Linked DNA regions of Homo sapiens: region 2 is linked to region 1. Evidence: promoter capture Hi-C in 16 types of primary human blood cells and fetal thymus (Javierre and others, 2016). All regions are on one chromosome and are shown on one strand. The core of a region is centred on a gene start or on the middle of the fragment in contact, and the rest is flanking DNA. Distances in the headings are between cores, read along the strand shown.

Region 1 (6,960 bases), core at 2,326-4,825:
GCTGGGGCACCTCTCCATTTCTTTGTATAGGACTGTCCACACTATGAACTGTGGACTTACCTGTCAACTGTGCAGTCTGGAGTGTAAAGTCTGTATTTTATTCAAGTGTAGACTCATCAACTCCCTCAATACCTTCAAAAATGCTCGGAAAGTGAGTGTGATTGGAAGGTAAGGATGTCTTAGGATAAGGCAGGAAAGGAAACACAGGGGGCTGGGCTGAAGACAGGCTGGGACTAGCGTGTGAAGGGTCTTCTTTCCACAGGAGAACTTGGACTTTATCCTCCTGGGCAGGCAACGGGGAGCCGGTGAAGGTCGCATTGCAGGAGGATGGTGATGAAGCTTTTTAAGGAAACATGTGCTGGCACTGTGAGTAATGGACTGTAGCAGAGACCAACCGCGACGCCACTGAATCAAACCAGGTGAGCAGTAACAACGGCAAAACCACTGGGGGGACGGGGAGAAGGAAAGAGTTTTTAGGTAGGATTGACAGAATTTGTAACCACTTGACATGGGAAATGAGGGAGTGTATCTGATCATGGTTTGAGAAATTTATACTAAAGTTTTAAAAAACTGATCTTGTCTAAGGAGAGATGCCATGAAAATGTATTTCATGTTATAACCTCACATCTCAAGGTGAAAATGGATGTTTCTTCTGAGACACAGGTTTGAAAAAAAGAAGATCATGAGGGAACAAAAAGCCCAGTTCTGATTGTTGGAAAGGATTACACAATACGAAGAGAAAGAAGAGATGGAATTCTTTTAGTTTTAGTTTTTTTCTTTTTCTTTTTTTGAGACAGGGTCTCGCTCTGTCACCCAGGCTGGAATGCGGTGGCACAATCACAGCTCACTGCAGCCTCAACCTCAAGCGATCCTCCCACCTCAGCCTCCTGAGTAGCTGGAACCACAGCCATGCACCACATGCCCGGCTACTTTTGTATAATTTTTTAAAGAAATGGGGCTTTGACATATTGCCCAGACTGGTCTTGAACTCTTGGCCTTGGGCGATCTGCCTGCCTTGGCCTCCTAAAGTGCTGGGATTACAGGCATGAGCCACTGAACCCATCCCATTACTTTCTTTTGTAATAGGTAAGACATAGATGTCTGCTGGAATGTAGACATAGACAAAAAAGATTGAAGTTTAACCTACCAGCCGGGAACGGTGGCTCACGCCTGTAATCCCAGCACTTAGGGAGGCTGAGGCAGGCGGATCACGAGGTCAGGAGATCAAGACCATTCTGGCTAACACGGTGAAACCCCATCTCTACTAAAAATACAAAAAATTAGCTGGGCGTGGTGGCATGCGGCTGTAGTCTCAGCTACTCCGGAGGCTGAGGCAGGAGAATCACTTGAACCCGGGAGACTGAGGTTGCAGTGAGCCGAGATTATGCCACGGCACTCCAGCCGGGGTGACAGAGGGAGAGTCAGTCTCAAAAAAAAAAAAAAGTTTAACCTACCAATTTTGGGGCAGAATTCCTAGACTTATACCACATCAATGGCCCTAGCAATGTTATGAACCAAGAGTAAGCTCCTGTAGGTTATCCGTGGAGGTAAAGGAACCAGGCACCTAAGCAAGGACACTATGGCCTACTGGTCAGGGCAGGTTGTCCAGGTAAGCAAGTTTTCTGAAATATGTACATGCTTTTAATATTAAAGGAAATGTGTCTTATGTCGTTAAATGTTCTTTAAAAACATTACTATGAATATAATTATTTAACTTGCAAATTCCCTTAAAGCTAGGATGCAACAAGGTTTCACAAAGAAGGCACCCAACCTTGATGTCAACAGTCTACCCACTATGGGAAGCCGGAGAGGCTTTCTTCCAAAATGCAGAATTGTCAGCATTTGAACGCTGAGTACGAAAAATTATAAGCACAGGCTGGGTACACCGGCTCCCATCTCTAATCCCAGATTTTGGGGGCCCGAGACAGCACTCTGAGCTCAGAGTGCAGACCTGCATAGAGCAAGACCCTGTATCAAAAAACAAAATTAAAAAAGCAGTTGTAAGCACAGGTACACGGTTAACCATGAATATGGTATCCCTGAAAAGCCGTTTTAATGGGGGAACAAACCTAAAATTTGGAATAATTGATAATATGTGTATATGTAGCCAATCAGAGCAGAAACCAGAAAATCAGGCAGCAAGCTTAAGGGAAACGCAACATACTTTGTTTGGTTTCCTTTTCTTCCATAAACTGATCAGGGGTAGGTAGAGTATGCTGCTATAGTTCGGAGTCGTCACCATCCTCACGGAAACGGCAGGAGTGTGAACACCTCCCTGAGCTACCAAGAGCATCTGACTCGTTGCAACGTGGGCCCGAACCCAGCGCCTCTAGGAAACGTGGGGCCGGGGCCTTTTGGTCCCGGGTGTGGGTTGGGGGTTTGGGGAAGGGCCGGGGCCTTGATCCCAGGTGTGGGGTTGGGGATTCCGGGGCTGAGCCGAGGCCTTGGTTAGGGGTGTGGGGCGGGGGTTCGGGGCAGTGCCGGGGCCTTGGTCCCGGGTGTGGGGTTGGGACTTCGGGGCCGGGACCTTCGTCTCAGGTGTGGGGCGGGAGTTCGGGACAGGGCTGGGGCCTGGGTCCCTGGTGGGGCGTTCGGGGCAGTGCCGGGGCCTTGGTCCCGGGTGTGGGGTGGGAGTTTGGGGCAGGGCCGGGGCCTGGGTCCCGGGTGGGGCGTTCGGGGCAGGGCCGGGGCCTTGGTCCCGGGTGTGGGGTGGGAGTTTGGGGCAGGGCCGGGGCCTGGGTCCCCGGTGGGGCCTTCGGGGCAGGGCCGGGGCCTTGGTCCCGGGTGTGGGGTGGGAGTTCTGGGCAGGGCCGGGGCCTTGGTCCCGGGTGTGGGGTGGGAGTTCTGGGCAGGGCCGGGGCCTTGGTCCCGGGGGTGGGGTGAGGGGTTCGGGGCAGGGCCGGGGCCTTGGTCCCGGGTGTGGGGTGGGAGTTCGGGGCAGGGCCGGGGCCTGGGTCCCGGGTGTGGGGTGAGGTGTTCCGGGCAGGGCCGGGACCTTGATCCCAGCTGTGGGGTGGGAGTTCGGGGAAGGGCCAGGGCGTGTCCTGGGTGGCCAGGGTCGGGGCCTGGGTCCTGGGGGTGGGATGAGGGGTTCGGGGCAGGGCCGGGGCCTTGGTCCAGGGTCTGGGGACAGGCTAGGGCCGGGGTCGCCATCCGTCCTGGGCGGCGGGCAGGGGTCTTTAAGGGGCGCACGCGGTGGCGGAGGACCAGGGCCCAGCCCTCCGGAAGTCAGGGCCCACACGGCCCCCCAGCGTCAGGCGCTCCGGTCGCGCCGGGGACGGCGGGCGGGGCGGGCGGGGCGGGCGGGGCGGACGTGCGGCGTGCGCGGGGCGGGGCGATGTGCGCGCACGCGCCAATCGCAAGGCCGCGAGCAGGGTGTACGCGCGGAGAGGCCAAGAAGGCGGCGGGGCGGGCCGAGCGTCGGGTGCGCCCAATCAGCGCGCCGCAACACCATGACGTGAGGCTCTCCCGGGGCTGAGCGCCAGTCCGCGGGACCGGCGGGTGAGTGCGCGAGTTCAGGGCGCGAGGCGCGGGTCCGCGCGGGGGCGGGACTTCCGCAGGGCCCCGGAAGTGGGAGCTGTGTGTTCTCATGCGAACGGGAAGGAGCGTTGGGGATCTGGAGTCCCGGGGTTGAGACATTTTCGGGCCCGAAAGGGGAAGAATCCGCCGCCGCCGCCGCCGCCAGCTCGCGCCCGCCCTCTCCCCTACCTCCGGCCCGGCCCGGCCCGGCCGCGCCGCCTCTCCCTGCCGTCTCTCTCCTCGCCGTCCCCGCGTGTGGCGCGGCCGCCGGGCCCCGGGGTTGAGGCGAGGAGCCCGCGGGCGGCCGGTCGGGCGGGGCGGCGGCGCTGACAGGTGAGGCACCCTGGGCCGCGGCGGGCCGTCCCTCCCGGCCCAGCTCGGACCCGCGCCGCGCCGCCTGTCACTGCGCCGCCATCTTCCCGGAGGACGCGGCCGCGGCGGGCAGGGCCGGGCCTGGGCCGGGGCCGGGGCCGGGGCAGGGGAAGGCCGGGGCCGGGTTGAGGAGGACCGGGGCTAGGGCACGGGAAGGGCCAGGGCTGAGGAGGACCGGGGTCAGGGCCAGGAAAAAGCCGGGGCTGAGGAGGACCGGGGCCGGGGCAGGGGAAAACTGGGGCTGAGGATGGCCGAGGCCGGGGCAGGGGAAGGCCGGGGCCGGGGCTTAGGAGGACCCGTTGAGGCGAGGCGGGAGTCGACGGAGCTGGGTGCCCGGAAGACCGGGCCGGGGTCAGGGTCGGGAGGCCGGGGTTGGGCGAAGGCCGGCGAGGACGGGGGTCGGGCAGGGCCTGGGCGGGGCCGGGGTCGCGGGCCGCGAGCGCCCCCAGGCCGGGCGGGCGCCGGCACCCGCAGTGCGGCGCCAGCCTTGCCACTCGCTCCTCGGTCCCGCCGGAGCCCGGATAGGCGGCCGTGCGGGTGCGGGGCGGGACGGGTCATCAGGGCATCGCATTCCTTTAGAACCAGGAAGTTGGGATCCTGTTGCTCGGTGTGTGTTTGGAACGCTCCTGTTTTCCTGTTGATAGACTTGAGCAGAGGTGGATCTGAAGGAGTTAAAAAAATAAAGTCAGATGTGAAGATTGCCTGTGTTGGTCTTGGGGCTGGGATACATGGGCGGCAGAGAAGCCATCGGAAAGCTGCTGCACCTGCCTCTCAGGGTGCGCTTGGGAACGTGAAGAGTCTTTCCGTTTCAGTGCCGTTGTGCGTCGAAACTTCATGCGAATGTAATTTTGCTTTTCCCCTTATTTTTACGTAAAACGTTCTTAAAACTTGGCTGAGATGAAACTTGAGAAACCTAGCTGTAGAAAACTACCTCCTATCTGGCTTTCGTTTGAGATTCTCTAAGTGGATGCCCAATAACTTGTCTTAATAGTAAATTGGAAGTTTGAAGTTTTGGATAACTGAGAAAACAGGAAGGTTTTCCTTGACAGGGCAGTGGAGTTTGTAAGTATAAACAGTATGCGTGAGGCCTTTTTCTAGAGATGAGAGCAACTCCAAGGTGAACATTGAAGGGGACAGACAAGTTATTTTCCCTTTCGAAAGTTTTTTTCTCTTAGTTTCAGTTGTTTGAATATTTAAATGCACTTGAAATAGGTGCTGAGTTGTAGTTTGTGAAGACCACAGTGGGGAAGAGTGGTGTCCTCTTTTTTCTTGGTGGTCAGGTGGTGTGTGCAGTGTGCAATTTCCATACTTCCCCAACCTGCCTGGCGCCCCTCATTACAGTCAGGGTAATTTACAGAAGTTGAAATCGTTGTGGCTTTTCAGTTTTTTCTCCTTGTATTTAATATGCTGAAAGGCAGTTTTGTAATCAAACCATATAAGAAATAGCTTAATTGAGGTTTGCTAAGTGAAATGCGTTCCGAAAGGCATCAGATTAACAAGCTTATTATTTAATCATAAATTTAATTTGTGTACTTATCTTTGAAACTTGCATTGGTTAGAAATAAATTTTATCCGGTATTTTGAAAAGTTAATGTGAGTTGAGTTGACTTATTTATATGAAACAAAGGCATGGCTTATTCATTAGAAGTTACCCTCGTGTTGCCTACATTTTCTCAATTGTAACAGGGGGATGATGATAATCTCATTTTCTTAGGACTGTTGTAACACAAACATGGAAATGTTGTCTGGTTTTGCTATTTTCACTATTACTGATTTTTTTCTTCCCCCCCCGAGTTGGAGTCTTGTTCTGTCACCCAGGATGGAGTGCAGTGACACGATCTCAACTCACTACAACCTCCACCTCCTAGGTCTTCAAGTTATTCTCCTGCCTCAGCCCCCCGAGTAGCTGGGATTTACAGGCACATGCCACCACACCTGGCTAATTTTTGTATTTTTAGTAGAGACGGGGTTTCAGCATGTTGCCCAGGCTGGTCTCGAACTCCTGGCCTCAAGTGATCCACCTGCCTTGGCCTCTCAAAGTGTTGGGATTACAGGAGTGAGCCACTGCGCCCAGCTTACTGAATTTTTAAAATATTCTACCTTGTAGCTGTCAATCTATTAGCAGAAAGTTTTGTTTTTGTTTTTGTTTTTTTGTTTTGTTTTTTTTGGCTTGTTTACACATGTATCTGGGCAGAGAAAACAGCTTCTGAGCACAGAATGCATATTTGGAGAAAGCAGTTCCACTCTTTTTGAGTAGGAACCAGACAGAAAAAAAGATAACATGGGTACTATTCTGTAGAAGAGTAGCTGAAATTAAGTGGCAGCAAATTCAGGGAGAAATGTAATTTGGTTTAATGTTCGGGAAGATTGCCATTTTTAAAAGTGAGATTTAAAGAATTTATTGAATTTAATGCAATTTCCATAAGTAAGCACAAGTTTTGACAAGTATATATTTAAGGTGTTTTTATGAAGCAGTCTTCACATTATCTTAAAATGTAGTTCTAAAATACGTGCAGGCTGGGTGAGGTGGCTCATTCCTGTAATCCCAGCACTTTGGGAGGCCTAGGTGAGTTTAGGAGCCCAGGAGTTCACCAGCCTGGGCAACATAGAGAGACCTCATCTCTACCAAAAAATCAAAAAATTAGCCAGGCATGGTGGCTCACACCTGTAGTCCAGCTGTTGGAGAAGCTGAAGTGGGAAGATCGCTTGAGCTTGGGAGGTTGAGGCTGCAGTGAGCCATGATCCTGCCACTGCACTCCATCCTGGACAACAGTGAGACCTTGTCTCCCCCCACCCCCAAAACATGCAAATTGGGACATCAAATTGTTAATGGTGTTTACAATGAACAGTGCCTTCAGGTAGCTGCAGCTACTCTACATAGATTTGCAAGTTTTTGTAGTGATAGGCTATGGTAGATGTTACCAGCCAAGGAGTGGCTGACAAACTCCTTTCACTGTTATTTCATTGTCATGTTAAAATTCATATTTTCCGTCAAAATAGTGATAGCTAGGATTATAATCTAGGTCTTCTAATCTTAGTAACGTGTTGTCTATGTTAGGGCCTCTCAAA
Region 2 (6,960 bases), core at 468-2,967, 4.9 Mb before region 1:
AGCCACCCTCCCTTCTCACTTACTGAGCATCTGTAGAATTGGAATTGAGTTTTTTCAAAACTTGTCCGTCAAATGCTTTCGCACCTGACCTTCGCCGCCTTTTCCTTTTGTTTGGTGGGTTCTCTGCCTCCTTTGTCTCTTCTGGACTGTTTTCCCCTAAGAATTGGGTTGGTGATGGATTGCTAAAAGCCAAGTTCTCTGTACTCCGAAGCTTTCTTCAGGGAGTTGGAAGATAATAACATGAAGAATGCATTGTAATATATGAATGCAAGGTGTACCTAATATCATGGTATATTGATTTTCCTGGTTATCTGTTTCTAAGGGAACTTTAGGTAATCTGTAGATAACGCAGGCAGGTTCTGTAGTTTGTACTTTTTCTGTTCTTTTTTTTTTTTTTTTAAATGTTCATCTTGCAAAAGAATTCACTTTGGAGAAAACCATTTTAACTATCAATTTTTGGGGAAATTTGAAATTCTAACTTTGGGCTGCTTGATCATAATTAAGATGAATACTGATGTAAATCTTGTGTATCCTATGTACTCTGACTTCAAATTCCTGAGTCATTTAATGTAGACTTCCACTTCAAATTTTTTGAAATTTATTATAATCTCTCAGGGTCAAACCAATTTTTTTTTTTTTTTTTACAGGTAACATCCCAAAATAACACTTTTAGATGTCTCTAGGCAAGAGAAAACCTTCGAACTTTTATTTGGCTAATTTTTTAGGAAAGGTTTGTGAAGAATTAGAATCGTGTTTTTCTGGTCTGTCATTTTTCTGTTTATAGTTATATGCAATTATTAGAGAATATTCATTCTGAATACTTCGTTATGTTTGACCAATCCAGGAATAATCCTGTGTCTGTCTTTGAAAAGCTGGAAGACTGTTGGATGCCTAAATGAATAGGCCCTACCCACTGCAGGTTTTGTGCTTTTTTTTTTTTTTTTTTAAGTGCCTAATTGGGATTCCAAGCTGAGCTTAGTAGTTTGTGGTGGATTTTGCCTGTTGGAATGGGTAGTGTTGCTGCCAGCGTGTTTTAAGAGCCGGTTAGTTCCACCGTTTTTCTATGGTTGTTGCTGGTCTTTCAGATTTGCTCACAATTGAGGTCAGTTAAGCATGCACGAGTGAGTGCAAATCCACCATCATGCAGGCTTCCACAAGCCTCGTTCACATCACTTTGTATCAAAGATGGTGAAAGTGTTTTTATATAACAAGTTAAGATAATGAGCTTTGTTTAAATTTTCATTCGGATTGTGAACTCTTTGATGAATGGTAGATGCATACTTAACTAGAAATCAGACCTGTTTCTGCTGTCATTTTGTAGCTGTGATAACTTTAATCTCTGTGAGCCTTCCTAAGTTTTCTGAGATGTTCTTTGATAATTATATCAATTCAGGACAATCACATTATTACCATCATTGATAGGAGTAGTGATGACAGGATGATTTTGATAATGAGAAATCATATATCCTTATTTTTAGTGTTACCAGGAATTAGATGATTAAAAATTAGAAGAAGAGAAAACCAAAGTTAGCACTCAGAATTAACTTTTGAATGTCTGGAGTTAATTAATTTTCTTAAAATTTACTTTAGTGCCTGAGACTTAAGAACCTAAAAAAAGGCAAGTACTTTCAGTGTTAGGAACTTGTTACTTTTAAAGAAGTGTAAGGAAGTGCTGGAGTTGCTGTGTTGCTTAGTGCTGCCATTGTTTGTATGAGTTGTTAAGTCTAAGCTCATAATCACAAATATTGATAGTTATCTTAATCAAGAAGATACAAAACGATTTGGTATAAAGGAGTAAAATCTTCATTCTGTGTGTAAAAGAAATGGAATATTCCACACAATTGAATTTTCTGAGGAACTAAAGGTTATCTCTAAAGAGCACAGCTTTTGGATAATGCCTTTCTAAATGCTGTCACAACTTCTTTAACAAACTAAGAAACATAATTTACTTGATAACCAAGTTTTCACATAGTGAAGATTAACTATTGTGTTATGCTGTAACATGGTGAAGCCATGAAGACCCCGCCAGCTTTGTAGGAACTTTTGCCCCCTTTACTCTCAGGCTGCTATGCTTTTTGAGCTCTTCAGTTTACTCTTCATATTTTTTCCCTCTATCTTACTTTACTGTTAGGCTGGCAACATTTACTTTTCTCTGCTTTCAGCATGTGTAGGCAGCCTCTCACCACATAATTTGCACATAGTTCACTATGGACTTGGAAATAAATTCACGAGTCTTGTTAGACATAGTAGATTAAAACAATAAGAGTAACTAGTTCCACAGCTGTTTGTGCTTCCCAGAGGTTTTTTTCTTCCCATTTTTTGTTCTACACAGTAAGAATTTATGAATAGAAATATATACTTTAGTGATGTATACCAGATGATTCTCAGCATCATATGTTTAAAAACTTGCTTTACATCCCAGATACTTTTCCTCATTTCTCTTTATCAGAATTTTGTGATTTCAGATTCAGAGAAGGTTTTATACTTGATTTTAAAATTCTGAACTAAAATTCAGATTGCCTCTTGGATTTGCTTAATCTTTGATTTGCTCTTTGAGAGTTCTTGCTTATAGCTGTGTTAGAGTTCTGTAGACAAAGGACTTTCTATTCACTACAGTAGTGAGCATAGGATCAATATTTGCAAATGCTGTTACACTTGGGAGCTGTGTTGTAGGCAGTTTAAACCAGCGTTAAGCATCCTGGCCAAAAGAAAATATAAGTGAAATTAGACATATTTTAGCATGTAGAGATGACAATAGTGTGACATTGGTTTTTAAAGACCACTGGTAGATGTTCACATGCGTGATACACTGCAATTACCTCTGTCTTCCCTCCCATGGTACCTGATTGGAGACTCTTACTGGAGTAATAGTTTCAGTTTCAGTTATTTAAACCCAGTGACTATTGTGATCAGTTATGGGCAGTAAAAAGGTAAACACAGAACCTGTCTATAAGTAGCTTGTTCTCGTGTTGGAGAGTAACTAATAAGAATTAGTATGAGAAAGCATTAAGTCCCCTAAGAGGTGCACTTATATGAGTTCAGTCAGGGAATCAGGAAAACCTTCGTAAAGAAGGAGATATTTAGCTGGCTTTAAAAAAATATTGGCAAGGTTTGAATGGAGGAATGATTTTTTAGGCAGAGAGCAGTCAGTGTAAGTCAATGCTAAGTCAAGGATGTATGTAGGGAATGGGGAGTGGTTTGTTTTGCTTGAAACAGAAGCTTTGGAGAGAGATTCTAGGCTAAGAAATGTGAAAATTATCTTCAAGGCAGTGAGAGAGGACTTTGAGCAGGAGAGTGATATAATTAGCCACATTTCAAGAGAAGGTATCTTTTGACAGTTTTTTTTTTTGTTTTTTTTTGAGATGGAGTCTCACTCTGTTGCCCAGGCTGGAGTACAGTGATGTGATCTCGGCTCACCGCAACCTCTGCTTCCCAGGTTCAAGCAGTTCTCCTGTCTCAGCCTCCCGGGTAGCTGGGATTACAGGTGCCTGCCACCATGCCCAGCTAATATTTGTATTTTTAGTAGAGATGGGGTTTCACCATATTGATCAGGCTGGTCTCGAACTCCTAACCTCAGGTGATCCACCCGCCTAGGCCTCCCAAAGTGCTGGGATTATAGGCATGAGCCACCGCGCCTGGCTGACAGTTTTTAATGAGATGCATTAGAGGGGCAGAGTCATTTAAAGAAACATTCTTCATAAAACAGCCATTTTTATTATGTTGCTGTAAGATACTTGCCATTGAAATGAACTGATTTAAAATTTTTCTGGTTAATTTCTCATGTTTCTAGGTAAGTAGTTTTGAAAAGGCACTTTAATATTAGTTATTAGATACTTTGTACTCCTGATCACATTTGTGTGTGTGTGTGTGTGTGTGTATTTGTAGTTTTTTTTTTTTTTTTTTTTTAATAACAACAATACTTTTTATTTCTGAGACAGAGCTCTCTGTTACCCAGGCTGGAGTGCGGTGGTTCAATCTCAGCTCACTACAACCTCTGCCTCCCCGGTTCAAGTAATTCTCCTGCCTCAGGCTCCCAAGTGGTTGGAATTACAGGTGCTCACCACCACGCCCGGCTAATTTTTTTGTATGTTTAGTAGCGATGGGGTTTCACCATGTTGGCCAGGCTGGTTTTGAACTCCTGACCTCAGGTGATCTGCCTGCCTCAGCCTCCCAAAGTGCTGGGATTACAGGCGAGAGCCACCGCACCCAGCCCATAACAGAACTTTAAAATGCAGTAGGATTTGATAGGGTGTAGAGGATTTTTTGTTTGTTTGTTTTTGAGACAGGGTCTCGGTCTCTTACCCAGGCTGGAGTGCAGTTGTGTGATCACAGCTCACTGTAGCCTCAACCTTCCAGGCTCAAATGATCCTCCCACTTCAGCTTCCCAAGTTAGCTGGAACTACAGGAGGCATGTAGTTTGGGTATTTTTTGTAGAAATGGGGTTTTGCCATGTTGTCCAGGCTGGTCTCAAACTCCTGGGCTCAAGCAGTTCTTCTGCCTCGTCCTCCCAAAGTGTTAGGATTACAGGCGTGAGCCACCTTGCCCAGCCAGGGTATAGAGTTTAGTTTGTCACTAGGAAGGTATATCAAAATATTAATAAATTTTGGCTCTATTCCCTTCCAAGTCTAAATTGCTCTGTAATCGGGGTTGGGGAGTGGGCATTAATTTTTCAGCATACCATTGTTACTGGCCGTGGAAACACCATGTAGGTGTAACAATTCATATATAGAAATTTCATTCAGCCTCTTCAGGTGCTTTGTCTAATATATTTGGGTGTTGTCCAAATGAGTTATTCTGTTTTTGATGATTGCAACTCTGGTGGTATGTGTAGGGTGCTGAAGGAAGAGAACGTCAGTATCGCTGATGGTTCTGTCCCCCAGCCCCACATCCACATATCTACACGTACTAGCACTTTGGTGCAATTAAATATTAAAAACCATTTTGGTTGGTTACCTGTTTTTATGTAGGAGAACGTCAAGTGCCAGGTGGGTGGCAGATGCTAGTGTCATACAGAACTTGGATTCTGAAGATGGTTTTATAGTCTTAGTGATTTTGGATGTGAATATGTATTCTTATCCTGCTTAGGTCATTTGTAGGTGAGTTTGAAGTTACAGTGGGTACTCTTACCTGTTACATTTACAACTCATGTTGGTGAATATTCATTCACATACAAGTTTCGTGGTTAAAGTTACTTGATGTACATGATAGATGGACCAGCTTTTCTAGTGTGAAAAAGAGAAGCTTAGTTTTTATGGCTTTAATGTGCTTTGCTTGTGAATATTGTGTATTCATCAGATAGGTTGTAGTAGAATTTAATTTTGAGCTGGTAATTTTGGAAAAATATTAAAATTTTAGGATCATTAATATATACTGTGCCCAGATATGACTGATAAATTCTATCAATTAATGACTTCACCCATGTTTTAAAACAAAGCTTATTATGTTTGTGCTATTATATATTCTTTTAGCAGTGTGGAAGCAGTCTTTTATAATAGTTGGGTATAGAGGAACTAGTGGGCCTGCAGATTTTTTATTAGCTTTAGTTAGCTCTTGTCATATTTGCTCCAAGTGGTGCCTTTGAAGGTAGTTGCTGTCAGCTCTTTGGACTCGGCCACATCTTTAAATTACTGGGCCCTTTATTTTAGGCCTCAGTGCTTGCTTTACGGCCATAGTCCAGTGGGTCATGCTTAGTGTGAAAGGTTATATATAGAAGCTGTGCAACACTCCAATTTGCTTGCTGAGATTTTGCTTTCAAAAGTCTGCAGTCTACTTTTGTCAGCTGGGAATGTAACTGTCTTCCTCTGCTGTGTCATAACTTATTTTTAAGATAGTAAATATTTTATTTTCATATGTGGAACTATATGTTGGTGCTGCTTTAGGTTGTTTTCTTCCCCCACCCCCCAAAAGTAAATTGTTTTAGTCAGTATTAGGGTTGATTTTTGTAGTTGTTAAAATACCTTCATTTCCTTTTATGAAGACATAATGAAGAAAGTGAAAAGGCAGGCCACAGAATGGAAGAAGATAATTGCAGTACATGTAACTAATAAAGGATTTATATATAGTATATAAAGTACTTTTATAAAGCAGCGAGAAAAAGCCCATTTAAAAAATGGGGAAAAATTTTGAATAGGCACTTATCATAAGTGCCTTATCACTTAGCTTGATCATCAGTAAACGTTTTTTTGTTTTTTTTTTTTTAAATTTTCTTTTGTAGAGATGGGGGTCTCACTGTGTTACCTGGGCTTAAGCGATTCTCCCACCTTGGCCTCCCAAAGGGCTGAGATTATAGGCATGAGCCACCATGCCCGGTCCCTAATCATTAATCAACTATTTAAAAAGTGTTCAACCTTATTTGTCCTCAGGAAATGCAAATTAAATCACTTCTTAACTAGAATGGCTAAAATTAAAAAGGCAACAGTGTAAGTGGTCAAGGATTTGAAACAGTGGGGACTCACTGCGGACAAAAGTGTAAATTGGTACAACCGTTTTTGGAAAGCTGTTTGGTAATATCTGTTGAAGTTGAATGTATTTATACTCTTCTTGATATATAACAGAAATGCACACTTAGAAGACACATGCGAGAATGTTGATAGAGCATTATTTGTAATAGTGAAAAACTGGAAACTATCCAAATATCCACCAGGAGTAAAATGGAGAAGTAAATTGTGGTATAGTCATTCAGTGGAATCGTCTACAGCTGTGTTACCCAAAGTGTGCTGCATAGATCAGCTGCATCTGCAACACCTGAGAATTTACCAGAAATGCGGAAGTTTAGGCCCCAACTCGGATATTACACAGAATCAGAATCTACAGTTTAACAGGATCTCCAGGTTATTCTTATATATAATAAAATTTGCAAACACAGCTTTAGTAATTCTTGAAATTGGTCCTGGACCAGCATCATCAGTATCACCTCATCAGCATCAGTGGTGGCTGACACCTGTAATCCCAGCACTTTGG

The links. The method cuts DNA at HindIII sites, captures the fragments that hold promoters and counts their contacts. A CHiCAGO score of 5 or more calls a contact.
Region 2: a fragment that was not itself captured here is called in contact with the fragment with the promoter of LARP4B in region 1 in 1 of 17 cell types (monocytes); the score reaches 10.7 in monocytes.

The regions. Positions count from the first base shown.
Region 1 is chr10:928,320-935,279 of GRCh38, reverse strand. LARP4B (La ribonucleoprotein 4B) reads left to right here and starts at 3,575. Exons shown (of 18, transcript NM_015155.3): 1 at 3,575-3,852. LOC124902363 (keratinocyte proline-rich protein-like) reads right to left here and starts at 3,289. Exons shown (of 2, transcript XM_047426111.1): 1 at 2,165-3,289; 2 at 1-444. The coding sequence starts at 3,153. The coding sequence ends at 2,449. It overlaps LARP4B-DT (LARP4B divergent transcript), which reads right to left and starts at 2,254. Exons shown (of 3, transcript NR_120629.1): 1 at 2,165-2,254. RefSeq lists silencers at 2,995-3,084, 3,165-3,874, 3,945-4,054, 4,085-4,164, 4,255-4,384. The HindIII fragment of the contact is 3,248 bases long and covers 2,146-5,393 here.
Region 2 is chr10:5,805,644-5,812,603 of GRCh38, reverse strand. All of the region lies in intron 1 of GDI2 (GDP dissociation inhibitor 2), which reads left to right. LOC124902367 (a long non-coding RNA gene) reads left to right here. Exons shown (of 2, transcript XR_007062041.1): 1 at 1-289; 2 at 648-6,960. Among named protein-coding and RNA genes, the nearest start is that of GDI2, 4.3 kb to the left of the region's middle. The HindIII fragment of the contact is 3,008 bases long and covers 214-3,221 here.